Regions from separate parts of the Homo sapiens genome. Here region 1 is linked to region 2. Evidence: promoter capture Hi-C in 16 types of primary human blood cells and fetal thymus (Javierre and others, 2016). All regions are on one chromosome and are shown on one strand. The core of a region is centred on a gene start or on the middle of the fragment in contact, and the rest is flanking DNA. Distances in the headings are between cores, read along the strand shown.

Region 1 (2,700 bases), core at 154-2,653, 1.0 Mb after region 2:
GGACATCATGTGGCAACATGGTTTAGGAAAAAAATTTTTTCTATTGGACTTGGAACTTTTCATTTATTTGAAATATTTTCCGAAATATTCATAACAGAAAAGGAAGTGGATTCTTACCTCATATCATGAACATATTACTCATACCACATAAACAATTTACAAAAATTTTTTTTTAAAGAAGGGAAATGTTAAAATCCCCAGTCAGGGCTGGGAAAAGGCTATGATAGATTAGGATAGCTTCAATGGCACTTATTGCTAATGTTTTAATCATTAGTAGAGGGAACAGTTTATGGGGTTTTCTTGTTTTTAATCTACATATTAATTACAAATGTTCTTTTGCTTGTATTAAATACTATATAACAAAAATTTAAAGACTTTATCATTTAGAACAGTTTTATATTTATAGAAATACTGCAGCCAGTTTCCCCCCAATATGAACATCTTATACTAGAATAGTACATTTGCCACAGTTAAGGAGCCAGTAGTGATACATTCTTAACTAAACTCCGTAATTTATTGATGTTTCCTTAGCTTTTACTTAATGTCTTTGGTACAGGATCCCACTCATGACACATTACATTTCCTTATGTCTCCTTAGGTCCTCATGGCAATGAGTTTCTCAGATTTTTCTTATGTTTGATGACCTTCACAGTTTTAATGAGTATTGGTCAAGAATTTTGTAGGATGCTCCTCTATTAAAATTTGCCTGATATTTTTCTCATGATTAGAGTGGTGTTGTGAGTTTTTAGGAGGAAGATCAAAAAGTGCCATCTTCACCACATTATTATACATAGATATATATCAGTATGTATAATCAACATGACGTCACTCGATGTTAACCTTGATCACTTGGCTGAAGTAGTACTTGTCAGGTTTTTCCATTATAAAATTCTTTTCACTGCTTTTCCATACCGTACTCTTTGGAAGGAAGTCACTATGCTCAGCCCCACACATGAGGGGTGGAGTGTTACGTTCTACCTCCGTGAAGACAAAGTATCTACATAAATTATTTGAAATGCTTTTAAAAGGGAGATTTGTCTCTTCATTTCCCCTATCTTATTTATTCAACCTCCCTTTATTTATTCAATCATTTATTCATATTGGTATGGACTCATGGGTATATTTCCTAAGGACAGTCATTCTGTTTCTTTTCTAGGTTTTTTAGTTAAATGTTTATTTAGTTAGTTTTTCCATAAGCTTATAGTAAAAAATTTAAGGATATACTGATTTCTTTCCATTACATACAAATATATACACATATACACATGCATATATGTAAAATATATTTGTTGTATACACATGTAATACATAGGTATATGTATTACACACATTTTAAAAAATCTTTACTTTGCTGATTTATTTCTATTACTTTGTATTCCACAAATGATTTCAGATGACTTACAGAAATAAAAATACATACATTATAATAGGTTGTGGGGGAGAAAATATTAGGAAGAATGAAAAATAAGTGCTTGCAAACAAGATAAAGCCAGGGATACGGGTAGTTTACAAAATGCCTAAGATCCTGTACAGTTTGGGGCCTCAAATTTGGCTGTCAGCTTCCTGGCAGCCAAAACAAAGAGAAAACCATCATGAGTATAAAGCTATCTGAAGCTTTAATAAGTAGTCTCATTTTCATTTTTGAAAATAATCTTAAATTTTCTTCATTAGGTTATTTAGAAGAGTGTCTTTTATATGTCCTATGACTAAGGTATTTCTAAAAACTCATTTTAATATATAGAACTTTTGAGTATTATGCTTTTGATAACCTGGGGTTTTCTTCATCACTAAGAATACTCAATTTTTGTAAATGAACATTTTAGAAGGTGTTTAAGGAAATAAGCCTAGCCACAGGTAAAACTCCTCAGATGAAAATGTCAGTATGCTGTCACGCAGGAGGCTCTCTGGGGCATCAACAGTATTTTGCTGAAATTACCATGGTTCGATATCTGGCTTATAGGCTTTGGGATCTGAATTTGTCAATATACTGAGAATAGACTCATTTAACTAAACTCAAGAGGTTGATATTTAACATTCAAATTCCAATTTATTTATGTACTATGAGAAGTATATCAGAAAACCCACAGATTCTTGTGTCCTCATTCCTGGCACATTCCCTTCCTCTAATTAAACTACTTGAATTGCCAAATAATCAAACTTCAGCACATTTATTCTTACCTTCAGCAGAACTTATGCAGCTCAGTAAAAGTTAAAGGACCAACAAGGAACCAGAAGAGACATTAGACAATCAAAATTCAACAGTATTTGAATCTATCTCAGAGTTATGTATTTATCCTCTGATTGGGCCTGGCCTGGCCAAGGGAGCCAGGGAGTCTTTCCTTTCTGGACAGAGTGCAATCATTTGAATATTTATGTCCTTGCAAAATTCATGATGAAATTTAATTCCCAATATAACAGTATTAAGAGTTGAGACCTTTTAATTACAAAATTGGGCCATGAGGGCTCCATCCTCCTGCATGAGATTAGTGTCCTTATAAAAGCACTTGAGGGAGCAAGTTTCTGCCTTCAGCTCTTCTGCCTCATGTGAACACGGTGTTTGTCCCTTCTGCCATGTGAGGACACAGCAAGAGATGTCATGTTTGAGGCAGACAGCCTTCACCAGACACCACATGTGTTGGTGTCTTGATCTTGGACTTCCCAGCCTCTAGAACGTTAAGACATAAATGGCTGTTATTATAA
Region 2 (2,700 bases), core at 170-2,669:
GGGAAAGCAAAAAATCAAGAGGCATCCTTGGAGATCTCGTAAATAATAAAATACCTAAATGGTTGCCTACTGTCAAAACCCCAAGAATTCAGCCCACGTCTTCTCTTTTAAAAAGGCAGTGGCATTTTCATTTTTTTCATCTGATTCCCACCAATCAGAGGCCAGGTACCCATGAACCCGGCTCGGCGTGGTCTTTTAATAATTAAATCAGGGCTGCCATTGACCTCAACTAACGCCAGGGGCTTCTGACTGCAGCCGAGCTCTGGTGGAAAGGCCGATGCCGGCCTGAGAGTGGGAAACGTGGGGCCGGGAGCCGGGGGCTTCCGCGCGGCGTGGCGTGGCGTGGCGTGGCGTGGCGCCCTCAGGGCCGTTACGCGATTTTCGCTCCCGCGGGCAGCGCCTCTCAGGCCACTCCCGAGGGACCCCGAGGACGCACTCGGGCCCCAGGGCGACGGTTCAAACGGGCCATTGTGCGCCCCCGGGGTCCCCCGGCCCCTGCAGGGCTACTTGGGCGCAGAGCCGCGGAGGGTCTCCGTTCCTAGAGGTCCTCCTATCCCGGGCTGCCTGAGTCCTCGCCAGCATCCGCCCTCTCCCACTCCCATCCTTCCTGGATCCGCCTCTCGGTTCCCGAGGGACAGTCCCGACCGCAAACCCACGTAGAGTAAGGAATGTGGGACAGGCGACAGAAGTGGCATACGGTCCTGCGTTATCCCTCCGTCTCGCCACACCTTGTGTCTCCATCTCTCCCCACTTCCTTCCCTCCGTCTGTCATCTGTCATCCCCGGTCGCTCTAAGACCAGGATTCCAATTCGCCTAGTGAGGAATCTCACTAGGGGAATTTATCGCGACATCATAAATTAACGGGTTCATTTTGACTGAAAAAGCGAAGGACTTTTTTCAGGCAGAAAACAAGTCTCGTCTGGACGGTAAGGACTAGCTTTAGCAATTATATAATGGGGGGTGGGGAGGACCTTTTGTATAAATTTAATGAGCTGATGAGAAAGTTCTACGGTTTTGACAAAAAAGTCCACCTAAATATTCGACTGTATGCCAGAAATTACTACACGTTTAGATATCAACTAAAAATATACAAAGGATACACGGTGTTTTCAGAACCCTTTCAAGCGGTTCTTAAACAAAAAAGTCTAGTCCGATGCCCATTAGCGCCGCCCCCATCCCACCTCTTACCTCCCACCGAGCCCAGCGGGTGGGCAGGAGGGGCCTGATTTGGGGACCAGGAAGGAGGAAGGAAGGGTGGGGGCGGGGGACGGGGAAAGTGACGGGAGCAGTGAGAGCCGGAAATGAGTGGCTAGCGAGGCACCCAGGAGCGCCCTGTCCGGCGGCGCTCTAGCCCTCGCGCACTGTCTCTATGCTCCCCAGCGTCTAGTCTATTTATTGTCGCGGGGAAGCTGCGGCCGCCTCGCACCCGGAACAACAAAGCAAGGAAGACGGAGTCCGAGCCTCGGGGGCTCCTAGCAACGGGCCGGGGCGGGAGTTCCATGGAGACTGGGGAGCGCGCCCGTCTCATCCTCATCCTTGTCCTCCAGCTTCTCCTTCGCATCCGACGCAACCGGCAGCAGCGCTGCCGCCGCGTCCTCAGCCACCGCTCCCTCTTCCCACGGTAACCCCCTAGGCGACCCTGGGCACAGGGAGCGCGGGCGGCTGAGCGGCCTGAGCACCGGGTGCGGGGCGTCTGGGCGCGGGGTGGGCATGTGCGGAGCCCGGGCCAGACTTGGGGTGGGATGTGTGGGGGCGGGCGACTGGAGGGCAGCCGCTGAGGTGGGGGAAACCGGTCCGGTGGCCGAGGGAGGGCTCAGTTCTGAAGAGGACCGGGCGATATTTGGGGATCTCTTTAGGGATAACGGGTTGGGGGTGGGGCGTCCGTACCTGGGAGCGTTACCGAGCCTGGTGTAGGATAAGAAAAGAAGGGTTATCTTTCGTTTAAGCCACCACTGGGAAAGACGGGGAAAAGAGATTCCTCATCTGTCTCGGAGCCATCACCCAGGGGAAGAGGGACCGTGCAAAGATGCTAGGGGTCCGTTGCTTCTCAGAAAACTTACAGCGGCTTCTCTAATAGCTCCCAAAAAGCGGCTTCGTCGGTTTCTGATTCTGGCAATGCCGGCAGCCTCGCTTTATTTTATTATTATTTTTGACCAAAATTAGGATTGATGGAGAAGGATCTAGAACTGAAGAAGAGAAAATGAATTGTGGGTAGGGCTAAGCAGGGATGAGAGTCGGGATAAGTGATAAAAATAGCCAATAAAAGCCCTAAAAGTAAATCTAATAGGGCATGAGGGCTTAAAAAGAAAATCTCTCCTGCCGAGATGTGCATCTGCAGGCTCTGTCAATGTGCTCATTGCAATAAGACTCAAACTGCAGTCAATCCACATCTGTGAGCTCTCTGACTGCATCTGTCACCTGCAGTTCCAAAGCGACACTGGCAGTAAGTGCATGAGCTTCTGTATTTAGGGTTTAGAACAGTGCCTTAAAACTGTGACTTAAGAAAAGGGAGCAGGTTTGCGTGTGTGTGTGTAAGCAATGTGGATTCTCTGGGAAAATATAAAAAGAGACATAAGAAGGTTCAGCCATCCTGGCATAATTTCGCAGTCTCTTTGAGAAAATGGCAGTTCCTTCCTATTGAGAAGTGACTGTTAGCACTATCTGGTTGAAAGGATTATTCACAGTTTGGTATGCCCAGTG

What was found. Contacts are between HindIII fragments. The CHiCAGO score rates a contact against its expected background, and 5 or more counts as called.
Region 1: a fragment that was not itself captured here is called in contact with the fragment with the promoter of TBPL1 in region 2 in 1 of 17 cell types (M0 macrophages); the score reaches 5.6 in M0 macrophages.

The regions. Positions count from the first base shown.
Region 1 is chr6:134,956,749-134,959,448 of GRCh38, forward strand. No RefSeq gene overlaps it. Among named protein-coding and RNA genes, the nearest start is that of ALDH8A1, 8.0 kb to the left of the region's middle. RefSeq lists a silencer at 469-669. The HindIII fragment of the contact is 417 bases long and covers 1,196-1,612 here.
Region 2 is chr6:133,951,805-133,954,504 of GRCh38, forward strand. TBPL1 (TATA-box binding protein like 1) reads left to right here and starts at 1,420. Exons shown (of 7, transcript NM_004865.4): 1 at 1,420-1,621. It overlaps LOC128092253 (umcharacterized LOC128092253), which reads left to right and starts at 1,500. Exons shown (of 2, transcript NM_001414965.1): 1 at 1,500-1,621. The coding sequence starts at 1,500. RefSeq lists a silencer at 418-527. The HindIII fragment of the contact is 10,274 bases long and covers 1-2,700 here.